Regions from separate parts of the Homo sapiens genome. Here region 1 is linked to region 2. Evidence: promoter capture Hi-C in 16 types of primary human blood cells and fetal thymus (Javierre and others, 2016). All regions are on one chromosome and are shown on one strand. Each heading gives the region's core, a stretch centred on a gene start or on the middle of the fragment in contact. The rest is flanking DNA. Distances are from core to core; before and after follow the strand shown.

What was found. The method cuts DNA at HindIII sites, captures the fragments that hold promoters and counts their contacts. A CHiCAGO score of 5 or more calls a contact.
Region 1: a fragment that was not itself captured here is called in contact with the fragment with the promoter of UCK1 in region 2 in 1 of 17 cell types (neutrophils); the score reaches 5.8 in neutrophils.

The regions. Positions count from the first base shown.
Region 1 is chr9:131,730,270-131,734,079 of GRCh38, forward strand. The region is part of intron 1 of RAPGEF1 (Rap guanine nucleotide exchange factor 1); the gene reads right to left. Among named protein-coding and RNA genes, the nearest start is that of RAPGEF1, 7.9 kb to the right of the region's middle. RefSeq lists silencers at 2,887-2,936, 3,313-3,607. The HindIII fragment of the contact is 9,723 bases long and covers 1-3,810 here.
Region 2 is chr9:131,529,798-131,533,786 of GRCh38, forward strand. UCK1 (uridine-cytidine kinase 1) reads right to left here and starts at 1,466. Exons shown (of 7, transcript NM_031432.5): 1 at 1,270-1,466; 2 at 689-848. The coding sequence starts at 1,377. RefSeq lists an enhancer at 623-1,536 and silencers at 952-1,001, 1,202-1,561, 1,702-1,871. The HindIII fragment of the contact is 8,496 bases long and covers 1-3,989 here.

The sequences.
Region 1 (3,810 bases), core at 1,094-3,593, 200 kb after region 2:
TTTCAAAAGCTATTTTGATGATTAGTTAAGTGCTATCCAACATTTACTGCCATTAAAAATCATCAACAAAACAAGCCTCAATAAGTCCACCCCACATACTGCAGTCTAGACTCCCAAAGAACCAGCCTTAGGCTGGGAGGTGGCTCACACCTGTAATCCCAGCACTTTGGGAGGCTGAGGCGGCGGATCACAAGGTCAGGAGTTCAAGACCAGCCTGGCCAAAGAGACCAGCCTGGTCAACATGGTGAAACCCCATCTCTACTAAAAATACAAAAATTAGCCGGGCGTGGTGGCGGGCGCCTGTCATCCCAGCTACTTGGGAGGCTGAGGCAGAAGAATTGCTTGAACCTGGGAGGGGGAGGTTGCAGTGAGCCGAGATCACCCCATTGCACTCCAGCCTGGGCAACAGCAGAGTGAGACTCCATCTCAAAAAAAAAAAAAAAAAAAAAGAAGAAGAACCAGCATTAGAAAGGGCTCCGGGGTGGGTTTATCCACCCTACCAAATTACAACAAAGGCACCTGAGGCTCAGGAGATTAAGCAATTTGCCCACGGTCACCCAGCCAGAAGCAAGGCTTCCGCAGCCCCCTGTGAGCTCCAGCAGGACAGTCAGGAGGAGAGCTGTCTTCTGAAGGAATCCTCAGGATGATGGGGTGTCCTGTTAGTGCAGCAGCTGCCTCTGTGGCAGAGGGGTCCCTGGAAACATGAAGGCTCATTTTCACCCAAGTCACACAGCCAAGAGAATAATATCAGAATCAATAAAAATATAGATGCATGGGGAATAGTCAGATGGGCTTTAGTCCTAACTTTGCCCCAACTCAGTATATGACTATGTGCAAATGTTAACTCTTTCAGGTCTCAAAGAAAAGCTCTGTGTCTTAGTCTCCTCCTCTGTAGGATGAGAACAGTTAACAGTACCTTTCTCCTATTGTAAGGATTAAATGCAACCACAAGTGTAAAATATACAGAAGCGAGCCTGGTACAGCACGTGGTAAGTGCCTAATGAACATCAGCTACTACTATTATTTGTATTTATTATTGAAAGGAGGGGTTGAGAGTAGCCAATTCCATGACTCATGAACAATCATCCATCTATTTATTCAGAACCATCACTTGAAGGAGGATGGGCGCATGTGATAACCAGCAAATAAATACAACCACTGTTTCCAACCAGGGGTTTTGTTTGTTTGCTCGTTTGGGGTCAGCTAAGTGGCTATTTAACACGGTCACATTCCACTGGATGTCAGCTGTCCTCTCTTCTCATTCCATGTCCTTCCTTCTCTCAGTTACTGTCAGTGTCACACTCCTGCTCCGTTTTTAACAATACAGTGTGTGGCTGGGAATCGCATCTGTCAGGTCCACATCAGTGGCACAAATTTTAAAAGCTATAGAGCAAATGCCTGAAATCCGCCCCTCTGAACCCAGCCCTGGGCAAACCACACAGCATCCTGTGCTCAGTGCTCCATTTCTACGCTTTAAAAGCACTGCAGAATCGCCTGATCACAAAACTTAATATGCAGTAAAGTCACTGTGTGGTTTGGGCAAGCCAGTGAAAAGCAAAGAGAAAGCTGCTGCTAAGGGACTGTGGGGACAGAAGTCTAAGCTGTTACAGGAGTCGTGGTGTTCCGGGAAGCAGCAGTCCAGACTGCAGGGTGGGACTTGGGTTCAGAGAATTGTCACCTGTCTTTCAAACTACAGCCTGGGAGAAGAAAGTGGGAGAAAGGAATTGTGACCAGCAGACAGCAGATTTCTAATAAATTCAGATGAACCTCCCCCCCTGTACCTTAGCTCACAGAGGAGGGGGAAGTAGCAAGAAAATACTGCCCATGCCTCTTGACAAAGAAGGAAGGGGGTGCCAGAGGCACACCAACAGCCTGCACCCCAGCCCTAGACAGCACACGCTGCACAGTCATCCTGGGAAAAGAGAGTAATGCTGCAGGAAGCCAGTCCTAAATCACATTCAAAGGCCAACTGAAAAAAAAAAAAATAACAAGTAGGGACAGGGATTCCTGGGATGGTGCTCATTATGGGTGTCAGGCTGAGTAGAGCTGGCACAGGCCTTGGTTTGTAAACACAGGGCAGAACGAGCATTACCTAAGAGCGCTTTGCTCCTGCACATCCCAAAGAACCAGGCAGTCACTACAAGTGGAAGCTCAAAGAACATGCACTCAAGTGGAAGCTCAAAGAACGTGCACTCAAGTGGAAGCTCAAAGAACGTGCACTGACCAATGGATGCGGCATCAGAACCGAGTGGCGGCTCAGCCTTCACGGTGTCCTGGCGTTCTCCCAGTGGTGTTCTGGGAATTTGATCCTAACCTCATCATTAGTGTTCAGAGGACTACAGGAAAACACAGAACCCCCAACTAACTGCACACCACTGATCAGATATTGGTCCTACTAATGTACCAAGAAACATCCTAATTGGCAATTTGAAACCACAATAAGCTACGTCTAAAGATAATTTGAGACTTGGAACCAGAAACTAAAATTCATTCTATGATAATATTAACTAAATTCACTCATTCTTTTAGTAAGTATTTACTGAGCACCTATTGCGTTCAAGGCACCGTAATGGCACCGCAGTGGTAGACACACTCCCTCACGGAGCTAATCATCTGTTTAACATTTCACTTGTTGATTTTTTAACTTGCAGAAAGGAAACTGGGGCTTTGATTTTGAATGAGTGAAACATCATTCTACTCAAGCATTGATCTGGGGCATTTCCATGGAATTTACTATATGTTAGAGGAAGAGAAGGCACAAAGAGCCCAGAGGAAGTTGATTTTGGTAGAGGCAGCTGTGAGAGCATCGAGGAAGTGGGTTTTCACATTGTGTTTGGGGTGGAGGGTCCAAGGAGGAGCCTCGGCCACAGCTAAGCAGGAAGGACTGCATTCAAAGAGGCTTCCCCATTAGTGGTTACCTAATGGCCTTCTTATGTATAAAAAAGGGCCTGCAGTCACGCATGCGGGGCTTCAAACCTAGATGACGGGTTGATAGGTGCAGCAAACCGCCACGGCACATGTATACCTATGTAACAAACCTGAACGTTCAGCACATGTATTCCAGAACTTAAAATTTAAAAAAGCCGGGGCGGGGGCGGGGGGGGGGGTGGTGCGGGGTTGGCGGGGGCAGTGGCTACAGCTTAAAAACACAAACAGAGGAGCGCTCCTTTTGAGTCCCACTCCTTCCTGGCACTGATGGGGAAAATAAGCCCCAGGAAAGGGTAAGAATCACCCAAGGACACAACTAAGATGTTCTCAAACAGATGACCAGAAACTAAGATGACTGGCCTGCTGGATGACAGATCCCTTAATAATTCACAAACGGTGGGTTTTATTTATTTACTCATAAAACAGCCTTTGGGGCAAGACGGGTGACGAGTCAGAGGAACACCTGTCCCGGCGGCGAGGCGGCCGCGGGGTGGGGCAGGCGGTGGGTTGTCAGGCCTCTCCTCTTTCCAGAGCGTGATCTTATCCTGGCCATGGGGAACACGCTCAGCTGGCCTGAGGTAAGACCCAGCCTGGCACTCAAGGCAATCTCCAATCCGGGCTACTTTGGGAGACATTTTTCTGCAAGCTCACACATGACTCATCTCTACAGACCTCCTATAAGGTCTCTTGGCTACAAGGAATCCCATTCAAACCGCCTCTGCCAACAGCTGCTCTGGAGACCAGGAAACATTTGGGGTTGCTGTGGTTGATTTTTCTAAAAACACACTTAGCTGGCATTAGTGCTATTTCTTATCTCTCTACAGCACTGTTAATGTGACTAGTATTACGAGTATCAGACGCAGTCTAAAGACTGTAGTGAGC
Region 2 (3,989 bases), core at 216-2,715:
GGCTGTGCCACTGCCCAAGCTCTGTGCCCCTGAGATGCCGGAACACAGGGGTTTTCTGATCAGCTCTTCCTGGGAGGTGGGTAGGCTGGGCCTCTGCTTCTCTCTCTTTCTGGGACTAACTGGTTAGACTGCGGCTTTGCAGGCCTTCTTCCCACAAGTCCTTGGGAAAAGGCTGACCATGCCAGCCAGCCAGGGTGGAATCTTCTAGCAGTGGCAGGTGTCTCCCTGCCGCATCTGCCCGTTTACCTGGCCCGGAGCTTCAAGCCACCAGCACTAGTTTACCTACCGCCTCCCACACTGGCCTCTCTGAGGACTTTGCCCCAAAGCACGGGAGGGCACAGTGGGCAGAGGTGTGTGTGGAGGGCCCTAAAGGCCCCAACGTGGGAAGGGAAGATGGGAGGATTTCTCCAGGATCACAGTTGTGGCAGGGCAGGGCAGGGCTCCCCACAGTGCAACAGGCTTCCTGACTGGCTCCAACCACGCTCCTGGGGGGACACTCAGGGCCCAGAGAACTCAGCAAAGTTCCCCTGACTTCACTGTGCAGCCAACTCCACTGCAGGCTGCGTGGCGAGTTGGGGGAACAGCCCAAGCGGGTCTGCATCCATCCAACCTTGGGCCCAAGCGCAGCTGGTTAGCGGCCGCCCAGAATGGGGTCTGCCCTCCCCACATCGTTGGGCTCGCGATTTACCTGGATGGTCAAAATTGTACTGTCCTTTCAAGGCCTTGGCCTTCTGCTCTGCCGTCAGGACCTTGTAGAACCTGTCCTGGCTCAGGATGACCACCTTCCGCTGCCGCTGTTCCACCTCGTTCTGTCCCAGCAACTCCATGATCTTCTCACACACGGTCGACTGGAGACACAGAAGCGGGATTCCCGCCTGGAACCGCTCGTCCTGTGACAGGCACGGGGCCGGCTTCTGGAGACACTGACCCACCCGCCCCCTGGGGGGTATGCTCGGAAGGCGGGAGGACACCAACAGGTGTGGATGGTCTCAGCGGAAGGGCCGCGGGGGCCCAACGGGGTTAGCACGGACTTGGGGCTCCGAGGAGCCCGGCCGGCGGAGAGGCTGTGGGGGAGCCCCGAGGCCCAGCGCCCCAACCCCTCGCCCGCCCCAGCCCGCCCCGGCCCATCGCGGCCTGCAGCCCCTTCGCTCCCGCGCCCTGCCCCTGCCTGGCAGGGGGCCCCTCGGCCGGGGCTGGGGTCTCCTCTCTGGACCGGGCCGCCCGTAGGCACCGGCGAGAGGCGAGACCCCGGCCCGCTCGGCCCCTTACCTTCCCGCTGGCAGTGCCGCCGCTCACCCCTATCAGGAAGGGCCGCTGGTGCGGACGGTCGGCCTCCGGCGCGGGGCTCTCGCAGTCTTCGCCTCCCGCCGAAGCCATCTCGGCCTCCGCTCCCGCGCATCGGGTCCCCGCGCCCGCCCCTTCCCCAGGCCCGGCGCGCCCGCCCAGCGCCGAGGTCGGAGGCAACCGGAGCGATCACTTCCGGGAGGCGCGCGGGGCACGCCGGGAGTTGTAGTCCACCGGGGGGGGGGGGGCCGCGCATGCGTGAGGGTGCAGGGCCCGAGGCCGGCACACCAGGAGCGCCCGCGTCCCATTGCGCCGAAAGCTGGCTGGCAGGGACTGCTGCGCCCGGGCCTCGAGCCGGCTACAAGGTCTCAGACTCAAGTGGCCCGGAAGGTGCCCGTTCCGCACCCCGAGGCTGGGGCTGCGCCTTCGTCCGAGTGCTTGCCTCTGCCTCGCGCTGCCTCTGCGCCAGTCCCGGGCCCTCCCCCGGCCGCCCCCGGGCCTGGCCCCCTCCAGCCCAGGCTCCTCTTGGCCATCGAGGCCTCCGGACTGTCCGGACGCCTCCCACCCCACCCGCTGCTGGAGCCGTCGGGGCGCCCCGGAACGTGGCGGGGGCTGTCGCCTGATGACTTTAGGCTCGCGCCTACAGCGCGCCAAGGAGGCAGAGGCCCATGTGCCGGGTTCCATCCCTGCCGCCCCCCCGCTCCGTGCCTGGCACAGAGAACGTGACAGGCAAATTCTGATCCATTGAAATTATGGATTTCCAGCCGGGCGCGGTGGCTCACGCCTGTAATCCCAACACTTTTGGAGGCTGAGGCGGGTAGATCACGAGGTCAGGAGATCGAGACCATCCTGGCGAACACGGTGAAACCCCGCCTCTACTAAAAATGCAACAAATCAGCTGGGCGTGGTGGCGGGCGCCTGTAATCCCAGCTACTTGGGAGGCTGAGGCAGGAGAATCGCTTGAACCCGGGAGGTGGAGGTTGCAGTGAGCCGAGATGGTGCCACTGCACTCCAGCCTGGGCCACAGAGCAAGACTCCGTCTCAAAAATAAAAAAGAGAGAGAGATAGCTAAGGCTCGGGGCAGAGCATGCTTTTCATATACAAAACAGACAACCCCGGGCGGACGCGGTGGCTCACACCTGTAATCCCAGCACTTTGGGAGGCCGAGGCGGGTGGATCACGAGGTCAGGAGATCGAGACCATCCTGGCTAACATGGTGAAACCCCGTCTCTACTAAAAATACAAAAAATTAGCCGGGCATGGTGGCGGGCGCCTGTGGTCCCAGCTACTCGGGAGGCTGAGGCAGGAGAATGGTGTGAACCCGGGAGGTGGAGCTTGCAGTGAGCCAAGATCACGCTACTGCACTCCGGCCTGGGGGAAAGAGTGAGACTCTGTCTCAAAAAAAAAAAAAAAAAAAAAAAAGACCCCAAGTCTACAGCCCCAGCTACCTCCTTATCTAATTCTCGCCTTTGGAGGCAAGATTCTCCCTGCCCTAAGTCACCCAGGGCCAGGTATCAGGTGACTAGAGACCACTCTGCAGCCCAGAGCCTGCTAGAATTACTCAAACTAGCCAATTTTAAACTCTTTCCCTGCCCTGCCAGGCCTTTTCCATGGAAACCCCAAGAAAGCCTCAGGCCTGGGCTCTCCCCTCGCCCCTGCTTCTGCCTCCTGACCAAACCTGGGGTTCTCTACTGAGAACCGTGCATGGCATGGGTGCCCCTTCTCTCAGGAAATGCGATCAATCTTGCGATGGCTTTGGCCTCTCCTCATGGTCATTCAGCCGTACCTCTGTAAATTAAGCCCCAGGCACAGAACAGTGCCTAGCAAACAGCCACGCTGCTGGCTTAGATCTGTCCAGGTGTGTGTCCCAAAGGTGGCCATCCCCCAAGCCAACTTTGAATTTGTATCAAGGGAGAGTTAGACACGGTTTCTTGCCATTTCTTCCCCTGTGGTCCAGCCACGTAGCGAAAGGCAGGGAAACTAGCAGAGTCTGACCAGGGGCTGTCCCTGATACCCCTGGCCTGGGTCTCGTGTGCCCTCTCTGGTGACTGGCCACAAGGCATGGGCTGCCAGGGCCAGTCAGGCTATTGCGTGGTTCCGCTCCCAAGGCAAAGGGACGCTTTGGGAAGGAGCCACTCCCTGGGAGCAGGCCCAGCACCCAGGAAGCCCACAGTCCAGTAAACAAGGCCCGGGCCCACACGGCTCAGGCCTCTGGGCCACAGTGGCTCCCCTATGGGACCATCCCAACCACCACCAAGCAGAGGGCCAGCCCCAAACCTCTAGCTGGTCCCCAACTCCCCATATTGTGAAGAAGAGTGACTTTTATGGGTTTTTTTTGTTCGTTTTGAGACGGAATCTTGCTCTGTTGCCCAGGCTGGAGTGCAGTGGCATAATCTTGGCTTACCGCAACCTCCGCCTCCCGAGTTCAAGCAATTATCCTGCCTCAGCCTCCCCGAGTAGCTGGGACTACAGGCACCTGCCACCAGGCCCGACTAATTTTTGTATTTTTAGTATAGAGACAGGGTTTTGCCATGTTGCCCAGGCTGGTCTCGAACTCCTATTCACCTGCCTCAGCCTCCCAAAGTGCTGGGATTACAGGTGTGAGCCTCTGTGCCCAGCCGAAGAGTGTCCTTAAAGAAGCATGAGTCAGCCGGGTGCAGTGGTTCACGCCTGTAATCCCAGCACTCTGGGAGGCCGAGGCAGGC